Linked DNA regions of Homo sapiens: all the other regions are linked to region 1. The links are contacts of gene promoters, found by promoter capture Hi-C in blood cells and fetal thymus (Javierre and others, 2016). All regions are on one chromosome and are shown on one strand. The core of a region is centred on a gene start or on the middle of the fragment in contact, and the rest is flanking DNA. Distances in the headings are between cores, read along the strand shown.

The links. The method cuts DNA at HindIII sites, captures the fragments that hold promoters and counts their contacts. A CHiCAGO score of 5 or more calls a contact.
Region 2: the fragment with the promoter of SEC14L4 here is called in contact with the fragment with the promoter of CABP7 in region 1 in 1 of 17 cell types (activated CD4 T cells); the score reaches 7.0 in activated CD4 T cells.
Region 3: the fragment with the promoter of SEC14L3 here is called in contact with the fragment with the promoter of CABP7 in region 1 in 2 of 17 cell types (activated CD4 T cells and M0 macrophages); the score reaches 7.0 in activated CD4 T cells.
Region 4: a contact is called between the fragment with the promoter of CASTOR1 here and the fragment with the promoter of CABP7 in region 1, in 4 of 17 cell types (erythroblasts, M0 macrophages, M1 macrophages and 1 more). The highest score is 6.7, in erythroblasts.

Annotation. Positions count from the first base shown.
Region 1 is chr22:29,715,983-29,723,412 of GRCh38, forward strand. It overlaps CABP7 (calcium binding protein 7), which reads left to right and starts at 4,021. Exons shown (of 5, transcript NM_182527.3): 1 at 4,021-4,551. The coding sequence starts at 4,443. It overlaps CABP7-DT (CABP7 divergent transcript), which reads right to left and starts at 3,921. Exons shown (of 3, transcript NR_186695.1): 1 at 3,566-3,921. RefSeq lists a silencer at 845-1,045 and an enhancer at 5,330-6,120. The HindIII fragment of the contact is 23,163 bases long and covers 827-7,430 here.
Region 2 is chr22:30,502,263-30,509,692 of GRCh38, forward strand. SEC14L4 (SEC14 like lipid binding 4) reads right to left here and starts at 3,433. Exons shown (of 12, transcript NM_174977.4): 1 at 3,296-3,433; 2 at 1,415-1,490. The coding sequence starts at 3,349. RefSeq lists a silencer at 3,200-3,494. The HindIII fragment of the contact is 5,471 bases long and covers 2,899-7,430 here.
Region 3 is chr22:30,468,876-30,476,305 of GRCh38, forward strand. SEC14L3 (SEC14 like lipid binding 3) reads right to left here and starts at 3,142. Exons shown (of 12, transcript NM_174975.5): 1 at 3,030-3,142; 2 at 1,632-1,707; 3 at 1,337-1,380; 4 at 1,144-1,203. The coding sequence starts at 3,083. The HindIII fragment of the contact is 8,474 bases long and covers 1-3,834 here.
Region 4 is chr22:30,286,252-30,293,681 of GRCh38, forward strand. It overlaps CASTOR1 (cytosolic arginine sensor for mTORC1 subunit 1), which reads right to left and starts at 3,254. Exons shown (of 9, transcript NM_001037666.3): 1 at 3,134-3,254; 2 at 2,455-2,525; 3 at 1,122-1,309; 4 at 904-1,036; 5 at 574-697; 6 at 12-125. The coding sequence starts at 3,246. It overlaps TBC1D10A (TBC1 domain family member 10A), which reads right to left. Exons shown (of 9, transcript NM_031937.3): 8 at 7,400-7,430; 9 at 5,739-6,600. The coding sequence ends at 6,124. RefSeq lists silencers at 2,912-2,991, 3,192-3,631 and an enhancer at 4,512-4,571. The HindIII fragment of the contact is 5,917 bases long and covers 1,669-7,430 here.

The sequences.
Region 1 (7,430 bases), core at 2,771-5,270:
TGATGCTTACACCCTCTCCACTTTTATTTCCTTGTCTGGACAATGGGTTCATTGATAGCCTTGGCCAGCTCTCCTAGGTCCCTCCATAGCTTCACCCTCCGCAGCTGGGCCCTGAGCCTGAGAGGGAGGCTCAGAAGGTCCAGCCTCGGACAGCAGCACCAAGCACTGTCACCTCAGCAGATCCCTGCAGCAAGCTGTGTGGTGGCAGCATAAACTCCATTTTACAGGGACGAAAACTGAGACCAGGGCAGGGGCTACACTCAAGTCATAGAGCTGGTAGCAGGGGTCAGACTTCATCCCAGCTGCACTGGACTCCGAGTCCAGTGCTCTTTTCCCATCACCAAGTTCCTTCCCCCAATAGCAACAAATTCAAGGGCCTGTCCCCTTCACTCTGTTTCCCTCACATGGACTCTGTTCCCTGTTGTCCTTTCCGCTCCTGTCACCTTCAAGAGCTGGGCATGTGGGCGTTCAGAGGGGGGTAGCCAGAGAAGAGCAGGGATCTGAGCAGTTGGGGCCTCTGGGTTCTGGCCTGCACCCCCTCTCAGCCCGGTGTGCATCTTTGAGTCTATAAATTCCATTATTCATTAGTTGACTTCGGGAGTTTGCCCGGACAATGAATATTTTATTCACCTCCAGACACTGTCCCCAGTGCGTTCTTGGAACAATATTGTTCCTCAGCCTAGGAGCAGAGGCCATAGCCTCTGCCCTCCCTGGACATCCCCTCCCTACCACCACTACCTCCCCTCCTCCAGTACCTTCTCCCCCAGCAGGAGCCCTGGCTTGGGTAGGGCTGCAATTATTGGTCCCAGCATGATCTTGAACTTGAAGCTTACACCCTCTTCACTTTGATTTCCTCGTTTGGACAATGGGTTCATTGATAGCCTTGGCCGGCTCTTGTGGGTCCCTCCACAGCTTCACTCTACACAGCTGGGCCCTGAGCTCTGCTGGGAGCTCTCCCTGGTGCTGAATGTGGCAAGAGGATGCTGGCCTCGGACAAGAGGTCTCTGGCCAGGGAGGGCAGGGACTGTGCTGCTCTTGAAAGGAGTGGGCTCCAGTCTCAGGGAGGGAAGAGTCTGGCCTCTGAACATGGCAGTTCCCACCTCTCTCCCCTTGTCTCCTTCCCACTTGGGGAACCCCCCTGGAATCACAGGTTTCAGCGTGTCACCTCTCCCAGTGTCTCTAGCCTCCTGACCCAATGATTAGTTAGCAAGGCCTGTGGAGAACCCCTCTTGGGAGGACCTGAGGCTCAGGCATCTCCCGGTGGGCACCCCAGAGAGTGCAGTGTGATGGCAGCAGCACCTTCCCCAGATGGGGGAGCGACAGACATAATTCACACCCTGTGATCATGCCATCTGCTCCCCCGTGACGCACAGAGGAGAGGACGGGGCTGCAATGCCGAAGGGCGGGGGGCGGTGGTGAGCGGGCAGTCGTTCATTCACTAATTCTCTCGTTCATTCATTTGACAGATGTTCATCCAGCCCCAGCCACCTTAGCCCATTCCAGTCCTGTGCCAAGCGTAGGAGATCTGGAGAACCCAGACCCAGACCTGCCCTTCAGAGCTAAGAGAGGCCCTCTCACACTTCTGAGCTTTTGCCCACCCTCCTCTTGACCCCTGGAATTCCCTTGACTTGAAAAAAAAAAAGCCACCATGGGTTGGGAGTGGTGCCTCACGCCTGTAATCCCAGCACTTTAGTAGGCCAAGGCGGGTAGATCACTTGAGGTCAGGAGTTTGTGACCAGCCTGGCCAACATGTTCTCTACGAAAAATACAAAAATTAGCTGGGTGTGATGGCATGTGCCTGTAGTCCCAGCTATTCGGGAGGCTGAGGCATGAGAATAACTTGAACCTGGGAGGCGGAGGTTGCAGTGAGCCGAGATCATGCCACTGCAATCCAGCCTGGGCAACAGAGAAAGACTCCACCTAAAAAAATAAAAAAAAATACCCACCTGGACAGCAAGCCCAGGAGCTTCCCCTTCACAGGGCGAGTACCAACACGCTCTGCAGCGGCCTCCCAGGGAGTCACTGGGAGCTGGGTTTCCTGCCAGCCTCTCAGCAGGCTCTAGCCCACTCTCCCTTGGCCCAGGGGTTCTGATTTAGAACTGACAGGCCTGGGCTGGCACAGCCTGGACACTTAGTAAACGTGGAACGACTGAGCTGCTGCTGCGGCTCGCTCTCTCAATCAATACTCGAAGCTATAATTATTATTAATTCCTATTCCTTGGGGGGGATGTTCATGCTAATAGGAAACTCCCAAGAGTTTCAGGGAGGTGATGCCCGGCACCTTTCCTACATTATGTCACTTCATCCTCACCGCTGCCTGGGATGTGGCACTGCCACCTTAACAGGCAGGGAAACTGAGGCTATGGCCGGTTAAGGGACCTGACTGTAGTTCCATGGTGAGGAGATGGTGGATGCAGAAGCCCCAGTCTGCCTGGCTCTTGGTGCTGGGTTCTTACTTCCTCAAGTCTCTGCTCCATCAAAAACACTGGGGAAGCTCAAGGCATTCAGCTCTAGCGGTGGAAGGTCAGAAGATGGGACAGGTGGGCAAGGAGAGCTTTGGAGTGGGGTGGGAGCTTTTCTGGGGCCTCTCTCACCTCCAGGCCCAGGTCCCAGTGGGCAACCAGCTAGCCCGGAGAGGTCTGGGGAGACAGACAGACAGCTGGTGTCCTTCCTGGCTCCTCCGCAGGTTATAGATGTTTCTAGGAGCTCCCTCCAGAGCAGGGCCCAGGAAGTGCTGGGCCCAGGCTGACCCAACCCCGCTTGGCTGGGGCTAGCATCTCTCACTGAGCCCCTTCTCCCCAGACCCTGAGACAAGGCTGCGATTAATCAGTAACAAAAACAGAAACAAGCAGAAAAGTGTAATCAGCTTGGGAAGGGCAGGGCAGGACCGGGCAGGGCTGTGCAATCAGCGTTCCTGCTGGGACCTTTAGCTGATTGGGCCAAAGGGGGCAGGGAGGTGGTCCCAGTAGGGGGATTCAGGGAAGCACCCAGAGATGGGGCCACAGCCAGGCCAGAAGGTCACCCCCTCCCATGCACATCTGTGCACCATATGCCCACACCACTCCCAGCCCCAGGGCCTGCACACCTCCCCCGACCTGCCAGCGTACAACCTTGGCACACACAGGTGGCCACACACTCCCGACATTTGTCCATCTGCATATGGAGTCACAGACACCTGCGCACGTGCCCAGTGGCACATACACACCCTCATGGATAGCAGACATATGCACACGCAGGCTGCTCCCTCAAACACCTGCCCCCACCCCAGCTCTGGGGTGCCGACGTGCCCTGGGGCCTGGGGAAGCCCTGCACATACATTAGGTCTGAGCTGCAGCCATGTGAACTGGCAGGCCCTCACACCAGACCCCACAGGCACCGGGCCATGTCTCTGTCCCGAACTGCCCTGGGGGCCATGAGACACTTTGGCTCCTCTTCTGCAAGCTGAAAGGTAGGGGCTTGGGAAGGGTCCGGGACTGGGGCCCCATTGTGGGGAGCAAGGTCAGCGGCAGGGTGTCAGTCACAGGCAGGGCAGGAAGCCTACCCCAGACGTGTACCCAGCTCTTACCTGCTGCTCCTGCCCTGTGACCTTGGTCAACGTCCTTCTCTCTCAGCCTCAGTTTCCCCACCTTGGATCCTCCTGGCACGGAAACGGTGACTCTTCTTGAGGACCCAGGTGCTTGGGGCCAGTCTCACCTCTCTGGGTCTACAGTTCTTAGTTCCGGGCTCTCCGCTCCTGGTGCGTGGATGGGGGAAGGTGAGCCAAGGGGCAGGAAGGAGGACCCCCGCAACCCACCCCCTCCCTGGTCCTGGTGGCTGCAGACTTAGGGTGAGGAGAGCCAGTGAACAGAGGGGAGCCCTAGTGGGAAAGGGGAATCGGGGCCGAAGGGGAGAAGGAGCCCCGGGCAGGTTTGGGGCGGCCGCTCAGGGGCCGGCGGCGGGAAGGGGCGGGCTGGGGGTGGGGAGCGCGGAGGGGGCGGGCGGGCGGCTGGCGGGGGAGGCGGGGAGCGCAGCCAGCGCGGCACAGAACGAGCGAGCGAGCGAGCGGAGAGGCGGCTACAGCCTGAGCGCCGGGCCGGTAGCGGCCGCGCCGGCGAGCGGACTAGCGGGCGGCGAGCAGCGCGGAGCGCGCGGGGCACCGAGGAGCGGGCGCGGCGGGCACCGCGCGAGGCAGCCGGAGCTCTCGGAAAGGCCAGAGCGGCGCCGCCCCCGCTGCCCCTGCGGGGCCCCGGCTGGGAGCCCGACGAGGGAGCGGGCGGCATGGCCCGGCGGCCCGGGGCGCGGGGGCGCTAGGCCCCCGGAGGGGCGTCCCCAGCCTCGCCGCTGCCGCCGCCGCCCTCCGCAGCCGCGCGCCCCGCCCGCTCCAGCCGCCCCCGGGGCCGCCACCGGCCCATGAGCCCCGGCCTCAAAGTTTGCGGCGGGCGGGCGGGCGCGGAGCCTCCAAGATGCCGTTCCACCCGGTGACGGCGGCGTTGATGTACCGGGGCATCTACACCGTGCCCAACCTGCTGTCGGAGCAGCGCCCGGTGGACATCCCGGAGGACGAGCTGGAGGGTGAGTGTCCGCCGGGATCCCCGCCCCGGCGGCCCTCCTACCTGTGCGCCCAGGTGAAGCGCGGGCCAGGGGCGCGGGGGCGGGGGGCGGGGGGCGGTCCGCAGGTGCCGGTTGCCAGGTGGGCGCCCCAGCTAGCAGCTGTGCCCCGCGGCAAGACCTGTCCGCACCCCGGGGCGCCGCGGTGGGGGTCGCTCAGGCGGAGAGCGGCCCAGCCCCTGCCCGCGTGGTCCCCAGCGCTGCGGAAACTTGCCGGGCCCCGCAGCGGGGTCACGGGGCCGCGCAGTCGGCGGTGACGGTGCGGCAACGCGGCGGACTGGGGCGGGGGTCCGCGCTGAGCCCCCAGCGCCGGCCCGGCCGGAGCACCCGCATCCTGATCCCCTCCGCGGCGCCCGCCCGCGGCTCTCTGCTCGCATTGACATTCCGCTCGTGTCGCTTTAAAAATTCAATCTGCTCGGGCAGCAGCAGAAGGGGAGAGGGCGACTGCCCTGCTCTTGCCCGCTGCGGGGCCGCCCCCGTCCCCACCTGCGGCCGTAGCCCCTTCCCTGCAGCCCTGCGGGGACCCCCAGCCCGGCGCGCCGGGAAGGCGGCCCGGGAGGCGGTGGCGACAACAAGTGGCCGGACTGGGCGGCTAAGTCGCGATAGCCAAGCCTGGAAGGGAAAGGCAGAGAGGCCAGGACCCAAACCCGCCCCCACCCCGTTCCCCCTGCCTCTCAGACTCGCAGGGGGATGGCAGGCCGCTGGCTGGGCGAGGTCAGAGCAGAGGGCAGGGGCAGGGGTCCGGGACAGTGTGTCCTGAGGAGCAGTGAGACCCCTGGGGCCCGCCCAGCTCCTTCCCTGCTGGGCTGGGGGAGGTGCTGAGGTTTCCCCTCCCCCCAGACCTCCTGGAGCCCCCATATGGAGTGGAGTGGGGGATCTGGGCTGATGGGGGTCACGGCCTCCTGGGATCTGCATGTCTGCTGTTGCAAGGGGCTGAGCTCACCCAGAGGATGGGCCTCTCGGGGTACCTTGGATCCAGGGGTCTCTGAGATCTGGAGGCTCATTAGGGCCTGGGAGGGTGCAGCCAAGACCAGCACAGTCAGGGAGGATGGTGGGAGCCCAGGGGAAGCCATGGAGGGAGGTCCTCCCTCAACCCAGGCCCAGGGTGAGGGCAGATCTTAGAGGAGTCAGAATGGGTCGGGGGAAGATCCAGAGAGAGAAGGCAGCCTCTGCCTCGCTCACTGCACCATAGGCATGAGCCACCAGGCTCCTCACCAACTGCCCCTGCAAACCCTCAGAAGCGGGGAGAGCTGTGGAGACAGGGTCTGGGGTCTGATGCGGACAGGACAGATGGATGATTGGGGCCCCCCGACATGACCTCACCATTCACCCCTAAAACCCAGGGCCAGAGCCTCCTCCAGAGCCCGGGGAAAGGAGGGGTACGATGGTGGGGGGCGAAAGGTCAGGAGATGGAGCATAGGCCTTCTCCTCCCCACCTTTGTCCCCTCCGGCCCTGGGCCACCTCAAACCTCCTGCAGATTTTTCCCTCCAGAGGCCCTCATCCATCCCCTCCTCCTGACCATCCAAGCAGGAGTCACCATGTCTCCCAGACCCCAGGCAGCTTCCGCTTCACTCCCTCCCCTTGCTCCCAGCACCCCCACCAGGACCCCACCACCCCAACTCCAGCCCTTTCTGGGTCCCTCCTCTCCTGATCCCCAGTCCTGGAGTGCACTCCCTGAGGAAGGGGAGAGGCTGAGAGGCTGGCTGCAGGGGCGAGGGGCCGCAGGGTGGGCAGTGCAGGGGCAAGGCCGCAGGCTCCCCAACCAACGACATGGCGTGCTGGCAGGAGCCCAGCTGCGTTAGTCACCAGCCACAACAAGTGCCCTCCCCGCTTCTCTCCTGTCCCCTTCTCCTGGGCCCTGGGGAGCTGAGGGGCCCTGACTCAGGGGGCATCTGAAGGGCAGGGCCCTCCCTGGGATGGGCAGGTGGGGTCATGGAGTAGACAGATGCCTGGGTGGTCCCAGCTCATCTCTGGCCCAGTGGGCAGCTACAGATGAAGGCAAGAAGTTTTCCATGACCAGCCCCCTTCTTGGCTGCAGGTGCCCTAAAAGCCCTCTGGCGGCCCCAGGTCCCTTTCAGCAGTCCTTGAATGCCAGGGCTGGCCATTCCTGGCACGGATCCCCCTCTGCCCTCTCCGCCTCTGCAGGGCCTCATGAGTGCTCCTGCCCCAGGGCGGTCTGGGCGAGACCCAGGCCCTCTGCCGGGAGGACGCCATTCGCGGAGGAGCCACATGTGCCAGGAAGAGGGAGCTGGGCAGCCCGGGATGGAATGCTGCAGACAGTACGTGCCTGCCGCAGAAATCCAGGGGGCGGTCAGTCTGAGCGGAAAGGAGGACCAGGCAGGGAGGTGGGAAGCACAGAGTTAAGATGAGGGCTTCCCAGCCAGGCGGCGCTGGGTTTGAGTCTCTGCACCTTCAGCTCATGGAGTGACCTTGGGCAATCGCTCACCTCTCTGAGCCTTGGTTTCCCCACCTATAAAAGGGGGGCTGGTGATGGAGGATGCAGTGAAAGTACCTACCTAGCACAGGGGGCTCAGGGACCCAGATGCAACATGAGGGGAGGCCCTGCGGGGGTAAGAGGCTGGAGCGTGCAGGGCCCAGGCCCGTGAGGGTGTGCAGGAGGCTGAGCCAGAAGGGCAGGCTGGCAGGGAGAGCTGGGTGGAAAAGGCCTTGAAGGTCTGGAAAAGGTCTCTGGGGACCTGTGGCCCTGGGGAGGCATGGAGGGCAGTTGGCAGGGTAGGAATGTGGCTGCACAGAGCTGGCCTGAGGCCCACCCAGGCCCTGTGAGGGACAGGCACGGACTCTCTTAGATCCCCTCTGTGTGCCCACCATGGCTGGGACATAC
Region 2 (7,430 bases), core at 2,183-4,682, 790 kb after region 1:
CATCTGCGACCTCATTTGACTCACAGCGCCCTGAAGGTAGGGACCAGTATTATGCCCATTACACAGAAGAGGAAAGTGAGGTTGGGACAATGACTGGCTTGCCACAGGCACATGCTAGCACTGGAACTCAGTCACAGCTCTGCCCAATTCCAAAGCCAGCGTTTTAAACCCTGCACTGTATGTATGCTTTCCGGGCTGACTCCTGACTTCTCACTCATCTCAAGTTCAAAATCCATTCCATGAGGTGTAATGAGTTAAGATGAATTTTTCCCTAAGCTCTGGGGCAGTGTCTGTTATTATTATTTTGAGATGGGGTTTCACTCTGTCGCCTAGGCTGGAGTGCAGTGGTACAATCTCAGCTCACTGCATCCTCCACCTCCCAGGCTCAAGTGATCCTCTCACCTCAGCCTCCTGAGTAGCTGGGATTACAGGTGCTCGGCAGCTCACCCGGCTAATTTTTGTATTTTTTGTAGAGATGAGGTTTCGCCATGTTGCCCAGGCTGGTCTTGAACTCCTGAGCTCAAGAAATCTGCCTGCCTCAGCCTCCCAAAGCACTGGGACTATAAGTGTGAGCCATCGCATCTGGCTTGTTATTATTTTTTTAGACTGCTGCTGTAATTCCTAGAAGAAACTGCTTCTCTAGCATTCGCTAAATCCACTTCCTTAAGTGTTTGCTGGGCACCTGCTCAGTGCACTAGGGCACCTCGGTTCCTTTAGGGGACAACAGAGCCCTGTCCTCGGGGAACTGGAGGTACACCCAAAGGCAAGTACTGAAAACAGTGCTCTGCAACATCTGCCCCAAGGGCTGGCCAGGCCAGAGGCCTGAGGATGTCCTGGCTGTTAACTGTAACCTCACCTGGACTCTGTGCCCACCTGTTGCCTCATCCTTGCTTGACAGATGAAGAAACTGAGGCTCAGTGGGGTTTTGTGCTGTGCTCATACACAGGGGAGCTCAGATTCTAGTCAGAGCAGGCTGATTCCAGACCCTGTGTTTTTTGTTTTTTTGTTTTTTTTTTTTTGAGACGGAGCTTCACTCTTGATGCCCAGGCTGGAGTGCAATGGCGGGATCTCGGCTTACCGCAACCTCTGCCTCCCGGGTTCAAGCGATTCTCCTGCCTCAGCCTCCTGAGTAGCTGAGATTACAGGCATGTGCCACCAAGCCAGCTAATTTTGTATTTTTAGTAGAGACAGGGTTTCCCCATGTTGGTCAGGCTGGTCTCGAACTCCCGACCTCAGGTGATCTGCCTGCCTCGGCCTCCCAAAGTGCTGGGATTACAGGTGTGAGCCACCGGGCCCGGCAAGCCTGTGTTCTTTACTACCCTACAGCTCCATTCCCTCAAAGTCTCCCACTCCTCTCCTGAGACCCTCCTTCCTTCCCTCCCTTTCTGCGTCCCCTGACCCCTGCAAGCCTCACCTCGCAGCCAGCGCAGGAGGAAGTAGTCATCAGCATTGGGCAGTATGGGCAGCAGGTCCTGGAGGTTCTCCCGGAACTGAGCGGAGGAGGATCTGATGGTCGGCGGAGCTCTCATGACCTCGGGGGCCACCAACCCCGCCCCTAACCCTTCCCACATCATCCACCAGTCAACTCCACCAGAAGACCATGCAGGGTGCTGCCCTGAACGACTTTGCCATCTGAAAATAGGGCACCCTCCAGCCCAACATAGGAAAAAGAGTTGGGTCCTTCCCAAAATTTGGGAGTGCCCTACACACTGGACTCCCATTCTACATGTCTAAGGTGGGGCCCTGGCATCCTTATTTTTAATTTTTATTTTATTATTATTTTTATATTATTATTATTATTATTATTATTATTGAAACAGGATCTCACTCTATCGCCCAAGCTGGAGCGTAGTTGCGTGATCTTGGCTCACTGCAACCCGTGCCTCCCGGGTTCAATAGATCCTCCCAGCTCAGACTCCCAAGTAGCTGGGACCACAGGCACACAAGATGCCCAGCTAATTTTTGTACTTTTTGTAGAGATGGGATCTTGCTATGTTGCCCAGGCTGGTCTCAAACTCCTTGGCTCAAACAATCCACCCGCCTTAGTATCCCAAAGTGCTGGGATCACAGGCGTGAGCCACCATGCCCGACTGACAGCCTTATTTCTACAAGGATCCCTGGGAGAGTCTGATGCAGGCCAGCTAGGCGGTTTTAGGAATGTTGTCCCTGATACTGCATCTTGAGGGTTTAGATTTAGAGGCAAGTTACCAAACCTCTCTAAGCCTCAGTTTCCTTATCTCTGAAATGGGGATAAAAATAAACTTGTACCAATCAAAGGAGTCTGTGCACGTAAAACACTTAGCAGGCTTGGCTCCGAGCAGGTGTCAGATATATGTGAGCACTCAGCCAGCGTGGACTGCCTGATGCCCCGGACAATGGAGGCTTTGTGGAAAAAAAACAGAGGCAGAGGTCAACAGACAGGGGCTGAAAGAGAAGCCAGGAATGCCTTATCAGGGCATCTGTTGCGTCTGAGAGAGAGGAGATCTCACTTCCCTGGGGACCAACAGAGCTGAAGGCAAAGGCTGGGTTTGAAGGTGAATCTGTGAATCCAAATTTGGGATTAGAAATATGAGGCCGGGCGCAGTGGCTCACACCTGTAATCCCAGCACTTTGGGAGGCCAAGGCGGATGGATCACAAGGTCAGGAGTTCGAGACCAGCCTGTCCAAGAGACCTGCCTGGCCAATATGGTGAAACCCCGTCTCTACTAAAAATACAAAAATTAGTCGGGTGTGGTGGCGGGCACCTGTAGCCCCAGCTACTTGGGAGGCTGAGGCAGGAGAATCGCTTGAACTCAGGAGGTGGAGGTTGCAGTGAACCGAGATTGCGCCATTACACTCCAGCCTGGACGACAGAGCAAGACTCCATCTCAAAAAAAAAAAAAAAAAAGATTACAGAGAAGCTTGGGCCCTAAGAACAAATCACAAAGAGAAGCCAAACAAACAAATGTTGCAACCTGGACATGAAAAGCAGTCTGTCTACCCAAGGCTGCCCCCGCAGCCGGATGGCAGCGCCACTCCCTCCCCCACAACCGGGGAACAAGGACCAGGGCCGGGTGGTGGAGAGCACGCAAGGTCAGAAGACTGGATTCGGCTCCTGGTCACGCAGAGATGGGCCCCTGTCCCGCGTGCTGCACGTAGCCGCCTCAACAACCGCACGCTGGACCAGAGGGCAGAACAGAGGCGCTCTCTCCAGGCTCGGTGTTCCAGTCTGTACCATGGGGGCTCCAGCCGGGTTGGGCAGTGCCAGGCTGCTCAGGGCCCCTCCTCAAGCCTCCCAGCCCGCGATGCTCCTCACCCTGGCCAGCGCTTCCTGCTGCTGGGGGCTCAGGTCCCCGACTCGGCTGCTCATGGTGCCCGCGGGCGCAGAAAGGCTCAGGGCGCAGGTCCGCCCGCCCGCCGCCGCCTGGCCTTGTATCCGCTGCCGCCTGGTTGTGCCTCCTGGGCCAGATGTTGGTCCCGCCCCGACGGGAGAGGCACTGGGCCTGCCCCGCCCCGCCCAGTTCTCTCCTCCTCTCCAGGATTTTTTGCTGCGGTCACCAAGCGCACCCTACTTGGGACAGGGAGGTGACCTGCCGGGAGAGTGGCCTGGGGCAGCTGGAGGCAGCCACCTCCAGGCCTCCTTACTGCGGGGGCTCCCGCCTGTTCGCAGGTGGCAGGAAAGGGAATACACTGAGATCCTCTTTCCAGCAAAATGGAGGAAATTTTTTTTTAAATGTTTTTTTTTTTTTGGGCCAGGCGCGGTGGCTCACGCCTGTAATCCCAGCACTTTGGGAGGCCGAGGCGGGCGGATCACGAGGTCAGGAGGAGATCGAGACCATCCTGGCTAACATGGTGAAAACCCGTCTCTACTGAAAATACAAAAAATTAGCTGGGCGTGGTGGCGGGCGCCTGTAGTCCCAGCTACTCGGGAGGCTGAGGCAGGAGAATGGCGTGAACCCGGGAAGCGGAGCTTGCAGTGAGCCGAGATCGCGCCACTGCACTCCAGCCTGGGTGACAGAGTGAGACTCCGTCTCAAAAAAAAAAAAAATTTTTTTTTTCTTTTTCTTATTTTGAATAAAATAGAGACCGGGTTTTGCTATGCTGACCAGGCTGGTCTGGACCTCCTGGCCTCAAGCAATCCTCCAACCTCCGCCACCCAAAGTGCTGGGATTAGGGATGTGAACCACCATACCTGGCCAACATGGAGGAATTTTTAATAAACCTGGCTCAACCCTCTAGGACCCCCAGGGCTTTTGTCTAATGACCCCCAAGCTCCTTCCCCTGACCTTGAACACAGCCTGGGACCTGTCAGTGCTCACTGACTGATAGGACAGCCTCATGTGCAAAATGGTTCCTGCCCTCAAGATGGTTGGAAGGATAAGAGGACGCACCCTGGGTCAGCAGAATGTCTGGCGTTGCCTGCTCAGTAAGTGCTGGCTGGTAGGAATATATTTCAGAATTGTGTTATTACTGAGGCTGTCACCAGAGCTGGGAGCTGCAGGGGTGGAGATCCTAGGGTGTCCCAAGTGCGGAGCTCCTGGGTGAGAGCCACAGTCTGAAGGTGGAGGCATGCAAGGTGCCAGCCGTGGACCAATGGAAGCCCTGGGCAGAGTGACAGAGTGGGCGGAGAGCCAAAAGGCCACTCTGGCTGACACAAGAGAGCCAGGCGGAGATCACTAGGAAAAGCAAGAAAAAAGTTCAGCCAGGCGCGGTGGCTCATGCTTGCAATCCTGGCACCTGGCACTTTGGGAGGCCAAGGCAGGCGGATCACTTGAGGTCAGGAGTTTGAGACCATCCTGGCCAACATGGTGAAACCCTGTCTCTACTAAAAATACAAAAATTAGCTGGGTGTGGTCGTCCACGCCTGTAGTTCCAGCTACTCAGGAGGCTGAGGCACAAGAATTGCTTGAACCTGGGAGGTTGAGGGTGCAATGAGCCAAGATGGCACCACTGCATTCCAGCCTGGGCGACAGAGCCAGATTCTGTCTCAAAAAAAGAAAACAGAAGTTGGCTGGGTGTGAATTTTCAAGAGAGGAGTAGAGGGGACGTGAAGATGAAGGAGAGAGTAAAACAGGCCACAAGACCCTGTTCCCTCTGTCCTCCCATGGAATCAAACCAAGCTCTAGTCCCGAAAGGACTAACCCAGTGGCCGTGAGCCACAGAGGCTTTTGAGCCCAGACAACGTGGCTTGTCATAACAAGCATAGAGACATGCTGTAATTGTAAAATACAAACCAAGTTTTGATGGCTTAGTACCAGAAAAAGTAAAATGTTTCATTAACTAATTTTATTTATTTATGTACTGAGACAGCATCTCACTCTGTCACCCAGGTTGGAGTGCAGTGGTGCAATCATGGCTCACTGCAGCCTTGACCTCACGGGCTCAAGTGATCCTCCCACCTCAGCCTCCTGAGTAGCTGGGACTACATTCTCACCCCACCACACCCGGCTAATTTATTTTTATTTTTATTTTTATTTTTTTATAGACACAGGGTTTTGCTATGTTAGCCAGGCTGGTCTCAAACTCCTGAGCTCAAGCCATCCATCTGCTTCAGCCTCCCAAATTGCTGGTATTACAAGCGTGTGCCACTGCTCCTAGCCTCATTAATTAATTTTATATAAATGATTATATATTAAGTGATATTTTTGAATATAATAGGACAATAAAATATGTTATTAATATTACTTTCACCTGTTTCTTTTGATGTTTTAATAATTTTGAATTATTTATAATGATAATTTTTTTTCTTTTTTTAAGACAGGGTCTCAATGTGTCACCCAGGCTGGAGTGCAGTGGCAAAATCTCCGCTCACTGCAAGCTCCACCGCCCCCCACCCCTGAAGCTCAAGCAGTGCTCCCACCTCAGCCTCCCCAGTAGCAGGGACTGCAGATGTGCATCTCCACATCCGGCTAATTTTTGTATTTTTTTGAAGAAAAATACAAAACATGGTTTTGCCATGCTGCCTAGGCTGGTCTCAAACTCCCGAGCTCAAGCGATCCTCCCGCCTCAGCCTCCCAAAGTCCTGGGATTATAGGCATGAGCCACAGTGCCCAGCTAAATTGTTATTTTTTAGGACAGTTTTAAGTTCACATCAAAACTGGGCAGAAAGTACAGAGTTCCCACATATCTGCTGTCCCCATACACACACAACCTCTGGTTCCAGAGATATCCATTTGCTGAAATTGATGAGCCTACACTGACACGCTAATATCACCCAAAGTTCCTAGTTTACATTAGGGCTCATTCTTGGTGTTGGATATTCTATGGGTTTTGACAAATGTATAATGACATGTGTCCACCATTGTGGTATCACGCAGAATAGTTTCACTGCCCTAAAAATCCTCTGTGCTCCTACCTATCCTTTTTACTTAAAAAAAAAAAAAATGTAGCCACTGGGGCTGGGCGTGGTGGCTCACGTCTGTAATCCCAGCACTTTGGGAGGCTAAGGCGGGTGGATCACCTGAGGTCAGGAGTTTGAGACCAGCCTGGCCAACACGGCGAAACCCTGTCTCTACTAAAACTACAAAGATTACCTGGGCATGGTGGTGCACGTCTGTAATCCCAGCTACTCGGGAGGCTGAGGTAGGAGAATCACTGAACCCGGGAGGCGGAGGTTCCGGTGATCTGAGATTGCGCCATCACATTCTAGCCTGGGAGACAGAGCAAGACTCCATCTCAAAAAAAAAAAAGTAGCCACTGGAAAGATTTAAAATTACACGTATGGGCTGGGCATGGTGGCTCACACCTGTAATCCCAGCACTTTGAGAGGCTGAGGTGGGCGGATCGCTTGAGCCCAGCAGTTTGAGACCAGCCTGGGTAACATAGTAAAACCCCGTCTCTACTAAAAACACAAAAATTTGCCAGGCATGATGCTGTGCGCATGTAATCCCAGCTACTCAGGAGGCTGAGACAGGAGAATCACTTGAACCCAGGAGGCAGAGACGGGGGTTGCAGTGAGCTGAGATCATGCCACTGCACTCCAGCCTGGGTGACAGAGTGAGATTCGGTCTCAAAAAATAATAATAATAATAAATAAAATAAAATTACATTTATGGATCACATTTATGACTTGCATTATATTTAATTTGAACATTGTTTGCCCTATAGAGATTTAAAATATGTTTTTAGAAAAAGAAAGTAAATCATAAAAAATGCTAAAAGAAAGTAAAAGTGACACCACATCTCTGGAAGGGCATGGTCTGTGTTTAAAAACAATGACAGAATCACAAAGGGAAAATGAATTGATTTGACTACAAAATACAAAAATCTATTAAACAAGAAACAGAATTAAGACATTTATCAGAGTCGGGCGCTGTGGCTCACGCTTGTAATCCCAAACTTTGGGAGACTGAGGCGGGCGGATCAGGAGATCAGGAGTTCAAGACCAGCCTGGCCAACACAGTGAAACCCCGTCTCTACGAAAAATACAAAAATCAGCTGCGCATGGTGGT
Region 3 (7,430 bases), core at 1,892-4,391, 750 kb after region 1:
TCACAGAGGGTAAATGGCAAAGCCAGGTCTCAGCAGGCCCTTGGACTTCTTAGGTCTGCCCCTGATGTCTCCCGTGTCCCTTTCTGTGGAGAAGAGTCGGGTTTAGTGATGGAGAACACAGATTCTGAAGGTTAACAGAGCTGGTTCAAAAACAGACACTGGCTGGGCATGGAGGCTCATGCCTGTAATCCCAGCTACTCAGGAGGTTGAGGCAGATGGGATCTCCTGAGGCCAGGAGTTTGAGACCAGCTTGGGCAACAGAGAGAGACCCTGTCCCTACAAAAATAAAAGAAATTAGCCAGCTGTGGTAATACACATCTGTAGACTTGGGAGGCTGAGGTGGGAGAATCACTTGAGCCCAGGAGTTCAAGGCTGCAGTGAGCCATGATCATGACACTGCACACCAGCCTTGGCAACAGAGTGAGACCCCATCCAAAAAAAAAAAAAAAAAGCAGATACTGCTGCTTCTGTACTGTGTGTCCTTGAGCAAGTGACACCACCTCTCTGAGCTCCATTCTACCTACTTTTTTTGTAAAATGGTTTGGATAACCCCTCACTCTTGGGACTGTTGGGGAAAGTCCCTGAGATAAAGTTGGCAAAGCAGAGTGCCCAGATCCGGGTACATGCCCTACAAGTGAAGACGTGACCATTACTCTACTAAGATGCCAGTGGTGGCACTGTCCTCATCAGTGCCTTGATGGGCTAAACTTCTTTCCCACCCAGACAGGATGCTTTAGGCAATGCCTTAGGGGGCAGGGGTGCAGAAGCACAGGCTAACCGTGGTGGTTACGAGCCTGGGTTTGGGGGCCCAAACAGGCCTGAGCATAAATCCCAGCCCTACCTTGGGCTATGGGACTGTGGGCAAGTTACCTAATTTTTGCTGGGCTTCAGTGTCCTCATCCACAAAATGGGGACAATAGCATCCATCATTGTGATGATTAAAGAAGCTCATGCTGCTAACATCTTAACCTAGGCCTGGACCTTGCAAGCCCCCAGGAAACATTCATTATGACTGTAGGAAAGGAGACTGCAGGCCTGCGGGTTCCACAGGCCTCTCAGGCTTGCTGCCCCTCATTCATGGTCCCCAGTGACCTTGAGTGGTACGTCCGTGAAAGACTGAGGTGTTTGGCGGTGTTGGCTCACCTCTGGGGGCTGCCAATCAAGGATATGGTCAATATCCATGGTCTTCCGGAACTCCATGTACTGAAAGGGAAATGAGTGGTAAGATCCCACTGGGCTCCCAGTGCCCTGAGAACAGGGATGGAAGGAGGGGCTTGAGGCATGGATTGCCCCTGACAAATCCCCTCCATAAATTTCCAGAGTGGATAGGTCTCACCTTGCGGAGCAAAGCCTCCGACTTCTGCAAGTCAAAATTCCGAGCTGTGGGAAAACAGAAGGAAGGTGTGAGACAGGAAAGATGCCTTGTCTTACTCCTGGCCAGTGGGAGCTATGGAGGACACTGGGGGCCTGGGTGAGACCTTGCTCCCCTACCCCCTTCCCTCCTCTGGACCTGAACATGTGAAGCAAGATTGTGTGGATGGACCCTGAGAGCCATGAGACACTCTGGAGCAGTTGAGACCAGGCCCCTCTTGATGCCCCCTGATCCCAACCTCTCCCACCTCTGCCCTCACCTCGGAGCCAGCGTAGAAGGAAATAATCATCAGGGTTGGGCAGGGCAGGAAGCACATCCTGGACGTTTTCTCGGAACTGGCAAGAGAGATGCTGGTTAAAGTGGCTCTCTCACATTGAGCCTTGGCCTCCAGACTCAAAGACTGTTTTCACAACCTCTCCTTTCCTCCCACATGCAAAATGGCCCACATTGATGAAAGGATGGGTTAATGGTTGAATAGAAGGGCAGATGGATCACTGGATAGGTGGATGAATGGAAGGAGGATAGATGGATGAATAAATGGTTAGAAAGAAGAATAGATGGGTGAGTGGGTAGGTAGATGGAAAAAGGGAGAAGAAATCAATGGATGAATGGATAGATGGATGGATGGAGAGTGGGTGGGTGGATAAATCAGTGAATGGACAGAGGAGAGATGGGTGGGTGATTGAGAGAAAGAAAGATGGATAGGTGGCTGCGTGGGTAGGAAGAGGGATGGGTGGATGAAAGAAAGGATAAACAGCCAGGTATGGTGGCTCACGCCTGTCATCCCAGCACTTTAGGAGGCTGAGGTTGGTGGATCACCTGAGGTCAGGAGTTTGAGACCAGCCTGGCCAACATGGTGAAAACTCATCTCTACTAAAAATACAAAAATTAGCCAGGTGTGGTGGCACATGCCTGTAATCCCAGCTACTCAGGAGGCTGAGGCAGGAGAATTGCTTGAACCTGGGAGACAGAGGCTGCAGTGAGCTGAGATCGCTCCACAGCACTCCAGCCTGGATGACAGAGACTCCATCTCAAAAAAAAGAAGAAAAAGAAGAAGAAAGGATAAATAATTGGGTGGATGAATAAGTGGATTGGAGTTTGGATGCATTCTTAGTTCCCTCCATGTGTTAGCCCTCAAAACATCTGCTTTTTTTCATCCCATCTTCTATTAAAACATGGTTAATAATTATATGTCCTCTTCTTCCTTTAGCTCTTTGAAAGACAACACTTTCTGCTCTGTCTCTTGGGCTTTTACAGACTGGTCATCTTTCAGGATCCCAAAGAGGAAGGGGTTAAAGGGCAGACCAGCAGCATCTTTCAGCTCCTACCTATGGTGCCTGGGAGGGAGGAACGGGGGTACCTGGCTGCCAGGTAAACCTCTCTGGTTCTGGCTCCTGGATGAGAAGAAGTCAGGCTTGACTTGGGTGGGCACCACCCACGTTATTGCCTGGAAGTGGTGCTAGTCCCTCAACCCCCGCCCGGGACAGGGTTGATGTTACTGGGCACCGTGGGGCTTGACCCTTTGGGAGGTAACACCAAAGAGACAATGTCAAGGACATGCTGAATCAACTGAGTGGGGCAGGATTCCAGCCACTTCTTTCCACCCCCCAGCCCCTTTCCCCTGGTCTTCCGGAACTCCAGGGGGAGGGGCTCTCACCTTGGCCAGGGTCTCTGCCTGTTTGGGGCTCAGGTCTCCAACTCGGCCGCTCATGGTGCTGGCTGGGGCTTGAGGAGTGGTGGCCACTATAGGCAAGAGGCCAAGCCTAGTTTGTCAGCCCTGACCCAGCTGGGTCCTTTTGCCCCCACTCCTGGGCGTGGCTCCAAGCGCCTCCTCATGGGCCAACTGTTTAAATTGCAGATTACATAATTGGGATTAAGTGAGGTCCCCTGCTTGGCTTGGGGACAGATCTGGAGGGGCAGGCGGGCATGGAGCGTGTGCCAGAGGTCCCCTGCCAGGAGGAGGCAGCTGGGAGGAAGGGAGGCTGGCCTCCCGTGACCTTGGAGCCCAGAGTGAGTGCCTGTAGAACCCGCTGACCCTCCCAGGCCTCCAGTGACCACTGCCCTGGAGAAGGGGGAGTTTCAGGAGAATGAGGACCGCTCCTTGTGGGTACCCTTTCTCCCTGAGCCCCAGTCTTCCCACACTTAGGATTCTGCAAAGATCACCCCCCTCTACCCAGCTCTGAAAGGGTAGGATTCTGAGGCTTGGTCAGTGTAGTAAACAGTTCATTCACTTTGTTGGGGGTGGGAGGCCCAGGTCCTTCTTTTGTGTCCACAGTCAAGAAGAGGACAGATGGCATCTTTTGAACGTCACTTGCTTCATTTATAAAATGGGGCCGTTAATGTTTGCCTTCCCCTCCTTATGTGGTTAGAGGGAAGATCTAATGAGACATAGGGACTGTCAAGGGTTGTGTGCATCTGAGGGATACTCTCCTTCAGCTCTCCTGGTCCCCCCTGGAGCTGTAAGCTTCAGCTCCAGGAAGGGAGAGACCCTGTTATCCATGACTCTCTCTGAAGAAACCATCAGCTTGAGGCTGCAGCATGGCCACATGGCCACATGGCCACATCTCAGCCTTGAGGGGGTCTGCATGGGCTGAAACCAACCCCGGGCTAGCCTCGGCCCCAGCAGCTGGGCTAGCCCACACCATTCTGCCTAGGGCTTTTCTAGGTCCCCTACTCCTGGGGCATCCTGGGTACCCACCCCTGAGCTACAGTGGGCCTCTATTCTGGGCTAACCCAGGGTCTCTTTAGGCTAGTAGATGTTGGTCAGTATCAGACATCTTCTCAGGGACATCTTCCTTGCTCTGGGCTCCTCACAGAGTTGGATCCAGAAGGAGAAGGCAGGGCTAATGCTGGCCATTTCCCTCTGCCTGGGGAGCCCGTGGCATGTACTCAGGAACAGTTAGGTAACTCTCCACACCCCAGCCCTGCCCCATTTCACATTCCAGCCTCAATTTCTGCAAAGCCCCAGCTGCTGTCTACACCCACTTCCTGCCAGGCCAGTAATGTACAGAGATTGGGTTCCTCCACTGCCCTTTCCCGAGCCACTAATCCTGCCCATTTCTCACCAGTCTCCTTTCTCACCCTAATCCCTATAATGTGAGGTGTGCTAGTTACTTCTAGGGGCATCGGAGACTGTGAAGGAGAGCCAGGAGGGAGGGTTGGGGGTCTCCTCAGGAGTTGTGAGCCTTCACACTGAGCTCTTTTCCTGACCCAGACCACAGATTTGTCAAGTACCTTGCTATGTTCACAAATCCTCATCAGCTACAGTGCCACTCCACAGAACTTCCTGTGATGGTAGACATCTTCTGTCTGGGGTGTCCTGTTAGACATATCTGGTAGCCACTAGTTACATGTGAAAGATGGTTAGCGTGACTGAGGAACTGAAGTTTTAATTGAATTGGATTTTGATACATTTTACTTTAAATTGTTCAATCTGGCTAGTGGTTACCATATTGGATGGTGCAGGTGGCCCATTTTTATTTTATTCTACTTTATTTTATTTTATTTTTGAGACAGGGTCTCACTCTGTTGCCCAGGCTGGAGTGCAGTGGCATGATCTCGGCTCACTACAGCCTCGACCTCCCCAGGCTCAATCAATCCTCCCCACCTCAACCCCCCGGAGTAGCCTGGACTGCAGGCACATTCCACCACGCCCTGCTAATTTCTTATATTTTTTGTAGAGATGGGGTCTCATTACATGCATTACCTCATTTTGGCCTGGTGAGGTGGCTCACACGTGTAAACCCAGCACTTTGGGAGGCCGAGGCAGGTGGATCACCTGAGGTCAGGAGTTCCAGACCAGCCTAGCCAACATGGCAAAACCGTGTCTGCTAAAAATACAAAAATTAGCCGGGCGTGATGGCGGATGCCTGTAATCCCAGTTACTCAGGAGGCTGAGGCAGGAGAATGGCCCGAACCTGGGAGGCGGAGGTTGCAGTGAGCCGAGATCATGCCACTGCACTCCAGCTTGGGGGACAGAGTGAGACTCCATCTCAAAAAAGAAAAAAGCAGTGCATTACCTCATTTAAACCTCAGAACATACCTGTGGTGTTGGGTAGGTACTATTACGCCCATTATGCAGATAAGCAAACTGAGGTATGGAGAAGTAACTTATCCAGGGGTAAACCCATGCAATTAACCACTCTGCCATTGTGCTGTTATGCTATCCCATAGTCTTGGCTCTAGGAGCTTCCACCTTAGTTAGGGAGAGAGCCTAAGCATGAAAGTCACCTATATGTGATGCAGTTGGCATCTGAGCCAGGCCTTGAAGAAAGGAAGGATTTTGATTTATGGAGAGCAGAATAAAGGGCATCCCAAGTGGAGGGGATGGCATGGGCAAAGGCATGGAGGTGGGAAAGTGAGAAGCATGTGGAGGGGGTAGATTACAGCAAACAAGACAGATTAGGACCCAGCTTGCATAGAGCTCACAGTCTCCCATTGGTGAGCATACCCTCTGTGCTGGGAGCTTTATATCATTATCAAATCATTCAGAAGCAGGTATGGGTATTCCCATTTTACAGCTAAACAAATAGAAGTTCAGAGAGATCAAGAAACTTTTCTGAGGTCACACAGCCAGTAAATGAGGAGCCAGAACTTGAACCCAAACCTATCTGACTCTGGATTGCACAGCCCACCCTGCTTTCCCCTGTAGGGCTTAATATTGTGTCCAGAATATAGTAAGTGCTCAATAAATGCTTTAAATCGTCATTGTGTAGAAGCCTGGATCTGCCTGGATTCAAGCTGGATTCAGGCTGCAGGGTGTCTTGGGGCCAGAAGGGTTAATTTTGCCTGCCTTGAAACAAAGGCCTTGGGGAAGGAGAGACCCCCAGCCTGCCCCCTAAACCCCAGAGCACACTGTCTACAGGTAAGGTCCCATGTGTGTTTGGCTCCTCATTTACCAAGCTCTCAGGGGACCATGGCAACAACCACAACTTAAACAAACAACCGCAGGTGGGTAGATAGAGCTGCTTGCGCCCCAACCTCTCCTGTCAGCCGGTTACTAGGAAATCTGAAACAGCCACCCCTTTCAGTCCATCCCTGGCACATTCCTGATCACCCTCCCTCCCAGGATGGATCTTGCCAGAAGCAGTTGGGTAGGTCTAAAGGGGCCCTTCCCGGGGGTACAGGAGCCTCGACATAGGGCAGGCATCACTGGGAGGAGGTGAGTAGGGGGCATTTAGACCACACAGATGTGAAGTGGGTGGCCTGAAAAGGGGAGATGGAAGCCAGGTGCCGAGGCTCACACCTATAATCCCAGTGCTTTGGGAGGCTGATGTGAGAAGATTGCTGGAGGCCAGGAGTTTGAGATCAGCCTGGCAACATGGTGAGACCCTGTCTCTTCAAAAAATTTAAAAATTAGCTGGGCATGATGGCGTACACCTGTAGTCCCAGTTACTTGGGAGGCAGAGGCAGGATCGCTTGGGCCCAGGAGTTTGAGGCTGCAATGAGCTTTGATAGGGCCACTGCACTCCAGCCTGGGCAACAGAGTGAAAGCTTATCCTTTAAAAAAATAAAAGGGTTGCAGGGAGATGGAAAGGGATTGGGGCACACGTCTCCAGACCCCAGTGGCGCTCTCAGTGGCACCTGGGACAGTCCACTTTCTATCTTTCTTTGGGCAGTTTCATCTCCTTTAATAAATAAAAAAAACTTAAGTGTGATATAATTCATACATCACAAATTCATTGTTTTTAAAAATAGAAGGTATCAAGTTTTCTTACCTTTTTATTAAAAAAAAAATCAGTAACAGACAAGAGTGTGAGAGACAGCTACAGAGAGGTGCTCACTCCAACACCGCCTGCGGAAAAGGTCACCCGGGGTAGAAGAGAACCCCTCCAGTGGGGACCCTGGGTTGGGGTGGTGATGGCAGCTAATAGCCAGTGGGTGCAGCAAGGGAGGGTCATTCCTGTTACCCCAGCCAGTGGGGTCAGGAGGAGGCACCGTCCACCCAGGCTGAGCCAGGCTCAGGTAATAGTAGCCTAAAACAATAGCCAAGGAAGTTAGTCAGATGTTTGGTTCCTCTATGGAAACTAAAGACAACATCTTAGCATATATTTCCAAG
Region 4 (7,430 bases), core at 2,004-4,503, 570 kb after region 1:
GGGTCACCTACTTTTTCTGTGTTTCAGCATCCATGACAATGGAGATATAACCCTCGATGAGGGAGAAGGCAAAGAACGTGATGGAGCTGGGTTCAGGACTGCTAGAGGCTGCCTCCTTGGGGGTGCTGGGGAGGGATGGGAGGTTTAGGGGCTCTACCAGGCACCCAGCCTACTGCCCCTGCTCCCGATCAGCCTCCAGAACCCTGGGAAGGAGCTGGTATGGTGGCCTGGGCAGGCTCTGCCATATCTGCTACCCGCCCAAGGGTCCAGCCCTCTGGAAGGTGTGGGTGGGGATGGGGGAGGACAATGAACCCAGCCTGTGCCAAAAACAAAGGATTCCACGGTGAGAGGGCCAGACCAGGGCATGGCTCAGACGACCCCACTGGAAAGGGATCCAGCTTTGGGGCAAGAACCTTCCCCGAACATCAGTGAAGCACAAGTGAGCATCATGGGCTGCCAGGAACCCCAAGAGAGGACAAGCAAGAGGTGCAAAACTGATAGATGGGCGGAAAGTGGTGGGACAGAGTGTAGGGAACAGTGCTGTGAGGACAAAGACGAAGTTCCAAGGTCCACCTGTGCGAGTAGAAGAGGACATCTATGAGGGTGGTGGCGATGGCTGGAAGCGTCTCAGGGTCCAGTGTGAGGACACAGAAGCGGTTCTGTGGGCTCTGGATGGGATGCACCGTGGGGCTGGGCCCTGCTGGAGGACAGCAGCAGGTGAAAAGGTGTCCGTGGGCTGGGGCGCCCCCTGGTGGCTAGTCAGGGAGAGGCGTGGGCCAGGGGCAGGTCTTGCTATCCAGGAACTGGCCGGGGTCCTCCTGCCCCACTGGGGCCCAAAAGGGAAGGGACCCAGTGGGAAGAGGAGGCCCTGCCCAAGTCCAAGTGTCAGGGGGCGGCCCTCACCATGCTGAGTGCGGGGAAAGCCATTGCTGGAATCATCCCTCGTCACAGGCACAGGCTCTCCGCCCACCTCGCGGTAAATGTCGAACTCCTGGGCCAGCGTGTGGATCACCACGGACAGGTCCTGCTCCCGCACCTGGGCCACAGCAGATGGCACATCACATGGGCTCCCAGGTACCTATATCCACCCTGCTCTGCATCAGCACCAGCAGGAAACTCACCAGGATGAAGTCCGTCTGGTAAGTGGACAGCATCAGCACAGACACGTGGTGCTCGGCCAGTGGCGCGATGACCGAACGGGCGATCTTGGTGACCCCAGCAGCCTGCACTGCCGCACCGCTGTGAGACGACACGTTCAGCACCAGCCATGTGGCCTCAGCTACTTGCAGGAACTCAGATGGGGGCAGCTCTGTGGGCAGGGGACATGTCAGGTCAGGGTCTACAAGGCTGGCCCCTGCCCCTCTCTGAGCCTCAGTTTCCCTTTCTGTGCCTTGGAGGGCTCCATCAAGGTAAGGGCAGGTCTGGAGGCTGGGGCTCCTGAAGTCCCTATGTGTGCAAAGACTGAGAAAGGCTTCAAGTGCTGGCCTGGTGGCATTGAAACTTCCCACTTAAGATCAGAGGTCCAGATTCAGACAGACCTGGGTTCAAATCCCAGCTTTGTTAATTTGTCTTATGACCTGGGGTGGGTGATTTGAGTCTCAGTTTCCTCATCTGTAAAATGGGACGACAATATCTACCTCACTACGGTGTCTTCTGTGGGTTAGCAGAAGCTTTGTACCACATGGCACCACCAGGGGGCATTCGCAGATCAGGTTGGCTGGGGGATTGCCTTCCCCTTTTGCAGACCCAGACTTCTGAAGTAAAAACAGGGAAACTAAGGCCTGCAGTGGAGCATGGGGACAGGCTAAGCTCCAGCTAGCTGGCCTGAGACTCCAAGCCTGTGAGGATGGGCAGGGCCAGCAGCAGGAGGAGGAGCTAGGCGTCAGCTCCAGGCCCCAGGGAGGGCCCAGGCTGGCGTCCAGTCCTGAGCTGGGGCCAGGGCCTGGGTGGCTGCTATTCACCCCAGCACAGCCAGGAGGCCTCCAGGACCCTCCCCTGAGATGGCTGCCTGCTCCTGCATTCCTTCCCTCAGACTCCTGGAGTTTCCAGACCAGCAGGGGAGGAGGTGACCCAAACCAGAGAGTAAGACCAGGAGGAAATAATACCCAGGGATTTCTAACAGCAGCACTTGACTGGAATCATAACAGAGGCCCTTCTGCAGGCCTAAGACTGCTGAGTGCCCCTCAGCGGTTTTAAGTTTATAAAGGCCTCATGGGACCCTATGTATCAGAACCATAACTATACCCATTTTACATAAGAGAAAACAGCTCAGAGAGGGAAAGTGATTTGCTCAAGGGCACACAGCCAGGGAGTGGTGGAGTAGGATTCGAACCCCGACCCATCTGCTTTTAAGGCTTAAGCTCTTGGGACGGATCCCAGCAACTGGTGAGAACCCTACAGAAGGGGAGCACGACAAGCCCCTCCCGTACTCCCGTTCCCCAGACCAACCCCCACCTTTAAAGCCCTCCTCGTCCACCATAAGCGTGTAATCCTCAGGGGTCTCCGTCAGGCTGAAGAACTTGCACCTGGTTGGGGGTGGGGAGCATCTTCAGCTTGGTGTGGAGAACTAGGGGTCGGGAGTGGATTTCTCTCCATCTGCCCCGAGACACCCCCGCGACCCTGGGCCGGGCGCCTTCTTGCCCTCTCGGCCTTTAATTTCCAGGCCAATGGGATGTTAGCCCCATCTCGGGGGTTGGGGGCTACTTTCCGGCCTCCCGACCTCTCCAGGAACCCTCCACCCCTCCACTCCTGGAGGGAGGAGAGGTTCACACCCGCGGCGACAGCCCCAGGGGCGTCGGACCTTGGACCCCCTAGTCCAGCCCCTCTGACATGAAGGGAGGCGTCCTGGAAGGAGCTCCCCGCAGTGACCAGGTAGGAATGCCCCCATTTGACACTACTGAGTTAAGCATTGCCCATCCCAGGCTGTTTGCGCTTTGCCCCTGGGAGGGGGCCTCACGGGGCCGGATAGGCGGCGGTCCCCCAGGCCGGATGGCGGCCGGACGGGGAGAGTCCTCCCCACCCGCTCCCGCCCGCCTGCCTGCCTGCCTTACGGCGATCCTAATCCTCCGACCCTGGCCCGGAGCGAGAGCAGAGCCCCCAGCCCCTATCTGCGCTCCCGAACCCGGGCGCGCACCGGCTGCGGCGGGGCAGGAAGAGCAGCTTGATGAGCGGGTGGGTGTAGAGCCAGAGACCGGGACGGGCGACGCTCAGCACCCGCACCCGGTGTTCTAGGATGTGCAGCTCCATCGCGGCTCGCGCGGACCCGACCCCGCCGCCAACTAGACCCAGGCCGCACGGGAGGCGGGGCGGCGGGGGTGGTGCCCGAGCCTTAAAGGAGCCGCTGCGCTGCCGCGTCCACGCCGCCCGCTGCGAGGCTGACCCGCCCAGCCAGGCGCGGCGTCCGGCTCCTTGACGGCCACGCCCCGCGGGAAGAGAAGCCTATTGGGTGGTCACGCCTCCTCCTAACGCCAGAACCTCATCCCGCTTTCCAGCCAGCCCACCGAGACCGCCCCGAACGGCTCCGCCTTTTTTAGTACTGGCTCGGGGATAGACCCCACCCCGTCTGACTCCTCCAGGCCCCGCCCCTGACGCGCCCCCTCCCTGGGCTCCGCCCTTTCCGCGGAAAGCCAGCTGCGCAGCCGGTGGGAGCATCCCGGAGGGGACGTTTCTGTCCTTCTGGCACACACGTGGGTTTCATGATTGAAGTCCTTGAGACAGAAGGGACACGAAACAAACTGGAGCTCGGCTAGGACCAGAACGCTGCCCCCAAATCCCCGGAGCAATGAGAGGCACAGGTCTGCTGTGCAGCGCTGTCCCCCGGGCGCCTTTCGCTCTCCTGCCTCTCATGGCTGCAGGGGGCAGGGCCGCCAACACAGGATTGCGATTGATACCTACCCTTCCCCGCTTGCGAGGGGGCTGACAAATTGAAACCTGGCCTGGTAGCCCCACTTGTTCCTTTCATCCAACTTTCAAAATAGAAGGCTCCTCACCAGGGGCACACAGAGGTAGAATCCTAGCCACCTCTGCCTGAGCGACATACTTTGGGTTAGGGGGCTGCAGGTGGCCAAGGCCTAAGGCTTGAGGTCCCTCGATACCAACAAAACCCGGAAGTGCTTGAGCCAGTAATGCCCAGTGCTCAGACTTTGGTGGGGGAGGCCCTTGCAGCTGAGGTTCAGTGAGTACTCAGACCTCAAGCCTGAAACTTGAGCCCCAAAGCCTGCAGCCCTTAGCTAGCCTGTGCACATCTAAACTTGCTTCAGGTTCAAGGAGGCCCCCGGCACTGGCAGACACCCCAGATCTTATCAGGCCTTCACAGGTCTAAGACCCCCCCAAGGCTAAGCAGGCATCAGCATGTCCATGTTGGCTCCATGCAGGGCTGAGAATGCTCCAGGGGACCCTTGCCTGGCCTGAGCACCCTGAGGCCTCAGATGTGAGGCTTTGAACCAAGTAGACTAAAGCAGGCCTCAGGCCTGATTGGGACCCAGCAGGCCTAAGCAGGCCCTCTGCCTGCTCTGGAGCCCCCACCATAGGCAGATGGAAGCCAAGCTAAGCCTCCTCCCTGGACTCTCGGGCTTGACACATTCCTGTGAAACACTATGTAGCCACCACATCCTGGCCTATCCCCTGGAGGACTAGGGGAAGGAGGAGCTTCTCAAAGGCTGAGCCCATCTCATCAATGGCAGGTGCAGACAGAGTGGGAAACCATGGGGCTGAGGGGAAGGAGGCAGGAAGTGGAGTGGCCTACCCTGATAGTCTCTTGAAACCCTTCACCTCCCTAGGCCTCAGTATCCCCAGCTGTACCAGGACAGGATGTTCCAGGCCCAGGCGAAGGCTGAAAGCTCCCAGGGAGGCTCTGCTCCTCCCTCTCCTGCCCCCTCCCGCTATGGCCTGGCCTGGCCCAGCTTGGTCATCTGCCAGGAATAGCGCTATTGTTTGACTGGAAAAGCTGCTTCCTCAGCAGAAGGGGGGCCTCTCCCAGGGACACCCTGTCCTTGCCCTCACCAGTCATCAGGTTGTGACCGCAGTGCCTGCCTGGGCCCTCAAGGGCAGAGTCAGGTCTCCTGGAGCCCTGGTCAGGAGAGGAAGCTGAGTGAGGGGCTCTTGGTGCAAATCCGGCTGAGGCTTTCCCATTCAGCTCCTGTTTCCTCGTCTGTTAAATGGGGCTAATGGAGCCTACTTGACCAGTCCAGCCTGGCACTTGGCAGTAAATCGAAGGCGGCATTTTATCAAAGAACCACAATTCGCCCCCCTCCCTGAGGGCCTGGGCTGAGCCTGTGAGGACATTCGTGGTGCTCCACTCCGGGCCCCGTCCCTGACCCCAACCCAGAATCAGCTCTCAGAAACTTACTGGAGCCTGAGGTAGCATCCAGGCCAGGACTTGAAGGAGGAAGACCCTGAAACCTCCTCCTTAGGAGTCCCTGCCCCCTTGGTGGGTGGGTGAGGACCAAGGCCTAGGGAGCACGCCCTGCTCTGCCCAGCACTGAGCTCCAGCCCTGGTGTCCCTCATCTGTGGCAGAAGGTAGACATAAGGCAGTGGGGATGGGGTGAGTGAAAATGGGGGTTAAGAATGGGGGCTGACCAGGGACTTGGCATGTCCTCTGGCAAAGGTACCTCTCAGAGAGGCTCTGGTGCTGGGCTGGGGCCCAGGAGAAGGGGCTCTGTAGGGCAAAGAGAAGAGATGCTGAGCACCAAGGTGACCAAGGTGGTACCCCCTTCCCAGCCCCTAGCTGTACACGAGCTCTCTATACAAGGCTGTTTATTTCTGTACAAAACCATGTTTCTATTTTACACAAAGAACACCCCACCCTTTCCCCTCACACCAGCACCCTAACCCTGGGGAGCATCCCCCAGGAGGAGGGGGCTGAAGGAGGCCCCACCCCCCAGGCCCTAGCTTCTGCCTGCCCTGGCTGGGCCAGCCTGAGTGCCACTGTAAAGAAAATAAATAAGGAGGCTCAGGCAGAATCTGTGTTGGACCAGGCAGAATCTGTGTTGGACCAGCCAGACTCCAGCCCAGCCCAGTGGCCAGGCAGCTTGGCCCTCAGAGGGTGGGCAGGATGTGGAATGTCAGTTCATGAACCGTGTAGTTATATGGAGACCCCGCCCTGGAGGCCTTAGCTGCCAGGGTTACAAGTAGGTGTCCTCACTCTCTTGGGACGTCAAGCTCTCCTGGGAGCGGTGGTGGGCTGAGACCTGGGGAGCCAAATCCTGAGGGGCTGAGTCCTTGGGGGCTGAGTCCTTCGGGGGCACATGCTGTGGGGGACATGCATCTCCTGCAGCGGCCACCACCATGGCTTGATTTGGGGCTGGGGGCTTCTCCAGCTGCCCTCTCCCCTTCATCTGTTTCCGCTGCTCCTTCTGGGCCTGCTTGGGTGGCTTGGGCTTGGCTTTGGAGCCAGGGAGGGGGGCATCTAGGGGCAGGCGGATGGATGGTGAAGGTTGTAGGGCAGGCCGGGGACCAGGTTCTGCATCCAAGATAGCCTTGGCACCATGCAGCCTGGGCGGGGAGCGGCACTGCAGCTCACCCCGGGTCTCCTGCCAGCGCCGCAGCTGAATGAGGTGTTCGCGCTCAATCTGGCGCTCTGTCACGGGCAACTCCACCACCTGCAGGGGCAGTGACACAGGCAAGTGGACACCAAGAAGAAGGACCTTCCCCTTCTGCCTCCCAGCCTGGGCCCCCAGTCTTCCTCAGCATCCCCCAGCCTTGGCCACTAAACACTGACCCCAGGAAGGATGAGGGTCTAGTCCCAAGCTGCAGTCACGAGCCCCACAGCTGAGTGCCAGGTGAGCTGGACACTTGAGACCCACCGCCTCAGAGGATAAAGCTGCCCACAGCTTCACGAGTCCACCTGCCTGACTATGGGGCTAAAGGGGTAAGACCCAGACAGACAAAAACCTGCTCTCTGCCAACCTGTCACCCACCGCTGCCCAGGGCAGCCTGGCTGCTTAGGCTCAAATTCCAGCTCCACCTGGGTGGGTGACTTTAAGGGGAGTTGCTTAGTGATTCTGCCTCTGTGAGCCTCCATTTCCTCATGTGTAAAAGCTGGTCACGCATGTTCCACCTAATTGCCCCTGAGAGACAAGTATCCATAAAGAAAGAACAAAGAGAAATAAGAGCCAAGGCTGCGAATGGGGTACCAGGGAGGAAGACGGGGCCGTGGGTCAACATTCTTCTTCATTCCCAAGCGGCTCGGATCCAGAAGGCCCTGCAGAGCCAAGCCTCTCTGTGCCCCATGCTCTTCACCAGACAGAAGGATGAGGTCCACCCACATGTTCTGTGTTGCCTAGCAATGGTCCTGGCATAGGATCCACCCTCAGGGGCTGAGGGTTAGCGGGACCCCCTTCAAAGGACCCCCACCTGTCTTCCTCCCTCCCCATGATAAGGGGCAGGCATGGGCTGTACCTCCTGGACCAGAAAGGCCTCCTGCATGATC